2 separate regions of the Homo sapiens genome follow, and region 1 is linked to region 2. Evidence: promoter capture Hi-C in human tissues and cell types (Jung and others, 2019). All regions are on one chromosome and are shown on one strand. The core of a region is centred on a gene start or on the middle of the fragment in contact, and the rest is flanking DNA. Distances in the headings are between cores, read along the strand shown. Region 1 has its middle 16 kb from the start of MEGF9. Region 2 holds the start of C5 (complement C5).

Region 1 (4,063 bases), core at 336-2,835, 320 kb before region 2:
CACATGCGCTGCTCCAGGCTCCATCTTTTGCCATTGAGGGTTTTGTATTCACTGTCCTGGAATTAAAAGTGTTCTCAAGGGATGCAGCATTGAGTCTTTCTCCTCATGTCTCAGGATCTTCATCATGAGAATACAATCATAAGCCTGCAAGAGATCCCCTTACATCAAAGTCATTCAATCCAAACCCTTCTCGCTGACACAGAACTCCGTAAACTGTAAAGCACTGTTGTACATTATTAATTCACATATTATTCCTTCTGTACCTTATAAAAGTCCTAGTTTGGGCAGGGCTAGGATTACCAGATAAAATGCAAGATGTCCAGTTAAATTTAAAATTCAAATTTAACTAGGCATCTTGTGATTTGATCCATTAAATCTAGCAGCCCTTGATGGGATCAACAGTCCCATTTTGCAGAACTGAAGCTCAAAGGGATGAAAGGATTTTACCCAAACTGCTTGAGAGCAGGGACTATGTCTGACTTTTTAAAAATATTTTTTTCAAACATGAGAAGTATATTCCCTTAAAGCCAGTGTATCAGTCCATTTAGCAGTGATCTAAAAGATTTATGCTTTGTGAAAAGCCTATTCATCTATGAATAGAGAATCTATGCCCTGTGTCTGTGTAGGTGTATATGTTGCACAGAACATTAAAAAGTTAATAAATTCATTTTTAATCCCCAGTTCCCAAGTTGGGGTTAGCTCAGAGAAGATGCTTGAGAAATGTTTACTCAACTATTGGGCTTTCTGAATCTTTCATTCCTACAAGAACCCTACAGAATGAAAAAGAAATTGCTGGCTCAGGACAAAGAATGGCCCCAGAATGCAGTGTCAGGCTTCCCTGATCTTCCTACATGGCTGTGCCAAAGATGAGTTGAGTTTCAGGAAAGTGCAGTGAAACTATCAGCAGTGAAACTATCACATCATGAAATAGTCATGGGCCTCACGAAAAGGCTTCTTGTCATTACACTTCCTTCCTGCTCCAGGTTTAAGACCACAGGGAGGCTTCCCTAAGGCTGCCAAATACAGCGAGGTCTTGGCATAAATGTTGCCCAAGGAGTCCTTACACCATCAAAGGCAGAGGCACAAAGTCCCTTTCCTGCCCTTTGGATGAGTAGACCTGTTGGGGGCGCTGGTGGGACAGCCCCCAGGTGGCTTCTAGACTTAGCTCATCTCCCTCCTGATGGACAGCTCAGGATCTGTCCACTGACAGATCACATACTTTTTTCAGCTGCCCAGCCAGAGCTGTGAATAAACACAGACTCTCCGAGAAGACTTGAGCTGCCGATGACAGAGGTCAGGGGTCTTGGTTCCATTCCAGGCTGTCAGCTAAGAAAGAGGATCTGCTGAAGAATTGGAGCCTGGGCATGAGCTCTTGCCATGGATGGAACTTTTTTCATGTGTGAGGTTCACCAGTTAATCCTAGAACGTTAGAGTTAGAAGAGATGGCCTTAAAAAGCACCTAGGTCAGGCCACGCATGGTGGCTCACGCCTGTAATCCCAGCACATTGGGAGGCCAAGGCGGGCAGATCACCTGAGGTCAGGAGTTCGAGACCAGCCTGACCAACATGGAGAAACCCCATCTCTACTAAAAATACAAAATTAGCTGGGCGTGGTGGCACATGCCTGTAATCCCAGCTACTTGGAAGGCTGAGGCAGCAGAATCGCTTGAACCCAGGAGGCAGAGGTTGCAGTGAGCCAAGATCGTGCCATTGCACTCCAGCCTGGGCAACAAGAGCGAAACTCCATCTAAAAAAAAAAAAAAAAAAAGCATCTAGGTCTAATCCAAACATTCTTCCAGGAAGACACACCAAGGCTCAGAGCAGGAAAGGACTCATTCAAGCTCACATGATAACTTGGCAGCAGAACCAGGCCTGGAATGCATATTTCTTCTTGGTGCTGCATTCCTGATTCAGAAGAGCAGCTCTCCCTGCTAAGCAAACAGCAGGTGGGCGGATGTGGTCACTAATCAGTGCACTGGCACTGTGGGTCATTGAGCTTTAACCCCAGAGCACCATTAACAGCTTAACCCAGTCTGTCACCCTCTCCTCCCTGGAGGCCCTGCAGTCCTCAGGATTAGAAATAAACTGCTCTCAGCCAAGCCCCTGAAATAGGAGATGAAATGGCCCACAGAGACCATCCAATTTAGTTCCCCCAGTGATGCCGAATCCCCACCCTCTGTGCTGGGAAGCAGTTCCAGTGACCAATGAGCTCAGTGAGCTTGCAGGTGTGTGGGCAGGCTGCACAGAAGCAGAGGGTGGCGAGTGGACCACAGGGGGATGGATGGGCATGGAACTGGTGCAGTTAAGCATCGGCGTTCCCATTCTGTCTCCTGTCAGCTCTGTTCTCAAGTCCTTTTGCTATTACACTAAAGCCCATCTCTGTGAACTTCTGTCTACTGGGTCCAGCTCAGATCCCTGGAGCCCAGGCCACACCCCTTGTGAAGCTGCTAAATTAGGCGGGAACCCTGGTCTGCATGCAGGACTGGCTGCCTGGCTCTGTTCCCTGCCAAGCCAATATCTGTATACCACTTAGGAGAAAAACTCTAAAGCCAAATGAGGAAAAGCAAGGACGGCTCTGCCTGTGATCCTTGGATGGATCCCCTGTATGTGCCAGCACTATTCTCAGCTCTTAGCAGAGAACAGAAAGGCTCTGTTGCTGTTCTCATGGAGTTTATGTTCTGGTTAGGGAGCCAGAGAGTATATGGGTACCTAAATAAATCAGATAATTTCAGAAAATGACAGTGCTAAGAAGAAAACACAGACTAATAATGGGATAGAAAATGACTCCGGGGTGGCATGTCACTTTCACAAGCATGGTCAAGGAAGCCATCTGGGAGAAGGTACACATTGAGCTGAGGCCTGAATGAGAACGAGGAGGCAGGCTGGGGAAGACCAGGGAGACAGAATGGTAAATGCAAAGTCTCATAGACAGACACAAGCTTCGTATGTGTTTGAGAGGGAGAAAAAAGCTGGAATGGGTAGAATATAGCAAATGAGAGAGAGAAAATCTGAAAGGAAGTTTTGGTCTGAGCCACAGTCTAGTGCGCTGAGCTGGGCTAAAGGTTAAATCATGGTGATGATTCCGCTTCCAGAGAAACAGAGCCACAGCAAAGCAGAAATCACAGCATCATCATGGTGCTAACTGTGAAGGCCAGATGCCCACTGGGGCAACTCCACTGTAACTGCAGCTCAGTCAGTTCTCCAATCCAACAGGAAACACCCATCCCAGGTTTGTTTCTAAGCCAGATGACCTCAGGGGGGCTTGTCTGCTGCTCCCCCAAAGCACAGTGTTCTTCTCAAGGAGCCCCCTGGGGCAGAGGCAACTAGAGAAGGAAGCCTACATCTTAAGAGTTTTTGTGAACTATAGAAGGCTAGACCATGAGCTTCACCTCCTTCACGGGCCTCCTTTTCTTGCTTTCAGGAACTGATCTTCTCTTCTCTTCTCTCTCTTCTTTCCTTTTTTAATAAAAACTCTCATGGCGTCCCAGGCTAGAGTACGCAGTGGTGTGATCTCGGATCACTGCAGCCTTCGCCTCCTGGGTTCAAGTGATCCTCCTGCCTCAGCCTCTTGAGTAGCTGGGACTACAGTCTTGTGCCACCACACCTGGCTAATTTTTGTATTTTTAGTAGAGATGGGGTTTCACCATGTTGGCCAGGCTGGTCTTGAACTCCTGACCTCAAGTGATCTGCCTACCTTGGCCACCCAAAGTGCTGGGATTACAGGCGTGAGCCACCGCACCCGGCCTTGCTTTCAGGATCTTCATGGGGTCTCTTCACCTCCTTCCCCAACCAGGCCTGTTCTCAGAGTCAGCTTTGGTAAAATAGTTCACTCTGGGATATAAATGGTACTGTACCCTCTCCCAGGAGTCCTGTATTTTATCAAGAGTCAAAGTCCTGGCTGGGTGCAGTGGCTCCCGCCTGTAATCCCAACACTTTGGGAGGTCGAGGCCAGTAGATCACTTGAGGTCAGGAGGTCAAGACCAACCTAGCCAATACGGTAAAACCCTTTCTCTACTAAAAATACAAAGATTAGCTGGGCATGGTGGTGCGCACCTGTAGTCCCA
Region 2 (3,960 bases), core at 731-3,230:
TTAGGAACCAGGCTACACAGCAGGAGGTGAGCAGTGGGGCAAAGGAGCATTACCACCTGAGCTCTGCCTCCTGTCAGATCAGTGGTGGCATTAGATTCTCCTAGGAGCATGAACTCTATTGTGAACCGCACATGCGAGGGATCTAGATTGCAAGCTCCTTATGAGAATATAATGCCTGATGATCTGAAGTGGAACAGTTTCATTCTGAAACCATCCCCACCCCAATCCTGGTCCATGGAAACATTGTCTTCCACAAAACCTGTCCCTAGTGCCAAAATGGTTGGGGACTGCTGGTCTATGTGATGGTAGCCGTCAAGCAAAAATACATAGTGTTTAGAAGCCCCTAAAAGAATATTCTGGAACCACCCTTTATAAAGATTTTGGTTCTTATTGACTTATCAGTAGCATAATCTATCCATATAAATAATTTCATAGTTTTCTTTGTCTTTCAATTGCTGCAGAGGAGCAGGAGCTTGCAGAGAGGCAAGAATGTTATTTTGGCCTCTATCTGGAATGCTCTTTCCTCAAATATTTGCATGGTTTGCTTCCTCACTTCCTTCAGGCTCTGTTTGAGTGCAGCCTCCTTAAGAGAACCTTTCCTGGCCACATTTTAAAATAGTGCCCCATAATTATTTTTTAATTCTCATACTCTGCTTTATTTTTTTCTTCATAATACTACCTACCTGACCTTACACATTCTTTCATTGGTTCATTCATTCATTACTTGCTTCTCCCACTAGAATGCAAGCTCTAGGAATTGTCTTACCGTTTGCTATATCTGCAGTGCCTATCATATGTTTAGATGCTCAATAAATATTTGTTGAATCAATCAATCAACCAATTAATTAAAGTGATTGATTGCCATGTTGTAAATGGTACACTCTGACTTCTTCAGAGAAAGTGAGGAAATAATTTTTATTAAGGGCTAGTAGAAAGAATTCAGAATAAGTCTGGACAAGAATCATGGAACCCAGGTCCTAGCCCTAGTTCTGCCACCAATTTGAAGTCACTTAATTTCAGTCTCTCTAAGCCTTAGCTGCTCGTCTTTCAAAAAGAATAAAGGCAGGATGCTAAGGTAGTTGAGTGCTTGTGGCCATGTAAAAAGATCACAGATCAGAAATACGAGGGTGCTAAAAAAGAATGACATCCTAAGTATGTGTTTATATATAATATATTTACATGTATACATTTATGACAAAATGAAAAAAATTGAAGTGATAAACAGGAGACCTTAATAAAAATCCTGTTTCTCTCTCTCTAGAACTGTGACCTTTGGTCAGTCACTTCCCTTATCTGGACTTATTCTCATATATAAAATGAATAGGTTTGATTAGATGATCTGCAGTTACTTTTCAGTATTAAAATATTTCTAGATATAAGATCATTATTTTTAAAACATTACTTAAAATGCATATTATCTCAATAATGACACTAAAAATTGTGAAAAGTCAGCTCATAAATGTATGGTAGAAGTCACTACAACAACAGATTTTCAGATCACAGTATTAGATTGACTCCTAAATAACCCTGGTTTAACTGTGTATAGTCTATGAAAAACACAAAGAAAACTAAACACCAAGTTAAAATAAGCAAAAAATGTCAAGAAAGTTTATTATCTGGAGTTTCTTTTGTGCTTTTTTGAAGAGGAATTTGAATAATCACTTAACGTAAATTTTAATAAATAACAATTCCATAAAAGCTGTCATGTTGTTAGCTACTCATCAAATCAAAATGCTTCCATGACTTTCTCATTCAGAGATGATACTATTCACTTGCTGTTCTCAGAAGTAGCAAGTTATTTTCAAGTTAACAGAATCTGTTAAATTTAACTCTTCATTCGTCATAACTAAGATGCATTGAAAAATGAAGATAGCTTGTTTTACTTACGTTTGCTCCTGTCCCCAGGTTTTCCCCAGGAAGATTAAAAAACAAAGTATTCCCAAAAGGCCCATGGTTGGAGGTAGCAGGAAACCACGGATATAACACTTTTGAGGATAGTCTCCTTTTAAATAAACTGAACTTGAAGAATTCAGATAATCTGGTTAATTATTAATGTCAGAAAGGTGAACCTCTAAGTGGGAAAACTAGAATTGGAACTAAAACACCCTTTCATGCCCAGGAATACAGATAGGGAGTACTTTACAGGAACTTACACCCAGGGAATTTATTTTTATTAATACAAATAAAGGGACCCTAAAATGGGAATTTGGCACTATGAAGAGTGGCTCAAAGCTAGAAACCAGTAAGCCCATTGCTTTGGCCTTTCTTCTCTTGCCCAGGGCATTTGCTTTGATGTTGCATCATCTGCAAGCATACATCTGGCAGGTCCACTCTAATACTGATGAAGACCCACCTGGACTCAGTTTCACACTGAAATGATTTTAGAAGGGGCCTGGTTTAGACAGGGCTCACAAGATGATCTTTTTTTGGTGACCTGAATGGCAGTGTCCTTGGTGCTGCAAATGGTCTGAGCATAACCTAGCTCTGCAAAGGAGGTCTAGGGAATTGTTCCTTGGTCTGTCTCAGTCTAGAGAACACTAGGTGGAGGAAAGTTGTGACTGGCAATGAAAACGCCATGTGGAGGATGCTGTCGTCATTCTCTAAGTATTGGAGAATAGATATTCTCCAATATTTATTAAGGCATATACCACTCGTTCAAAGTTTGTCTTTATTCAGATATAGAATATCTTTCTTTTAAAGAAAACACATGTTATACTTTTCAGTGAGGATTTTAATAATTTTAATATAAGAGCTCCAGAAAAACAAAGCTTCCTATAACAATTGAGTCTAGTAATTAATTCACAATATACTAAAATTTTATCTTTATACTTTTTTTTTTTTTTTTGGAGACAGAGTCTCTTTCTGTCGCCCAGGCTGGAGTCTAGTGGCACTATCTTGGCTCAGGGCAACCTCTGCCTCCCAGGTTCAAGGCATTCTCCTGCCTCAGCCTCCCAAGTAGCTGGGACTACAGGCATGTCCCATCACATCCAGCTAATTTTTTGTATTTTTAGTAGAGGTAGGGTTTCACCGTGTTGGCCAGGCTGGTCTCGAACTCCTGACCTCAGGTGATCCACCCACCTTGGCCTCCCAAAGTACTGGGATTACAGGCATGAGCCACTGTGCCTGGCTGATTTTTAATTAAGTTAATTTTTATGATGTTTTATGTTCATTAGAATTTTTTTATTTACTACCTTCTCTTTTTTAGTACTATTTTTACCTTAATATATAATATGTACTCTTCTTTAAAATAATAAAACAGATGTCTCTAAACATATTTCTATAATGAGATATTTATGATATATAAATGAGATATTTATGGTCACATTGGCATTCTTTGCTTTGAATTAATAAATAATAAACCAAAAATATTTATAAACACTTTAATGCTGAATTCACTAGGGAAAAAAGGAGCACAAAGGGAAATTTGATATACAAATTTCACTAAAGGTATCTCTTGCATATGTCATTGAAATGACAAACATTTGCCACTATTGTCTGATCATCTAGCCCATTTATTTCAAAAGGGAATCTGTGAAATGATTAAGCTGGGTTGCAAAAGATGGGTCAAGTTAAAACAAACAGTACTTTTGCCATCATTTTTGGGAAATGAAATTTAAGAGAGAACAACAACACTCAAATCAAGGTAGGTAATATTTGTATTTTAAGTGCAAATAAGTTTGTTTGCTTGAGCTATAGAGTAAATACTGATAACCAATATTTGCAAGCCATTGTCCTGTTTCTCTGGTAGAAAACATTTAGAGAATGATGGATCTCAAAGATTCTCAACAGAACTGAAGTTTAACAATTTATAGATTCTAAGCTGTGTTTAGTCAAAATTTTTTATCTACCTTCTAAATGTGGCTCACAGATGAACTTTTGAGGCTGGGCACGCTGGCTCACACCTGTAATCCCAGATCTTTGGGAGGCCGAGGTGGGTGGATCACCTGAGGTCAAGAGTTC

What was found. The method cuts DNA at HindIII sites, captures the fragments that hold promoters and counts their contacts. A contact is called where the count stands out against the background at its distance.
Region 1: a contact is called between a fragment that was not itself captured here and the fragment with the promoter of C5 in region 2, in 1 of the 25 tissues and cell types used here (H1 embryonic stem cells).

Annotation. Positions count from the first base shown.
Region 1 is chr9:120,728,884-120,732,946 of GRCh38, forward strand. No RefSeq gene overlaps it. Among named protein-coding and RNA genes, the nearest start is that of MEGF9, 16 kb to the left of the region's middle. The HindIII fragment of the contact is 5,003 bases long and covers 1-4,063 here.
Region 2 is chr9:121,048,295-121,052,254 of GRCh38, forward strand. It overlaps C5 (complement C5), which reads right to left and starts at 1,981. Exons shown (of 41, transcript NM_001735.3): 1 at 1,888-1,981. The coding sequence starts at 1,952. The HindIII fragment of the contact is 13,591 bases long and covers 1-3,960 here.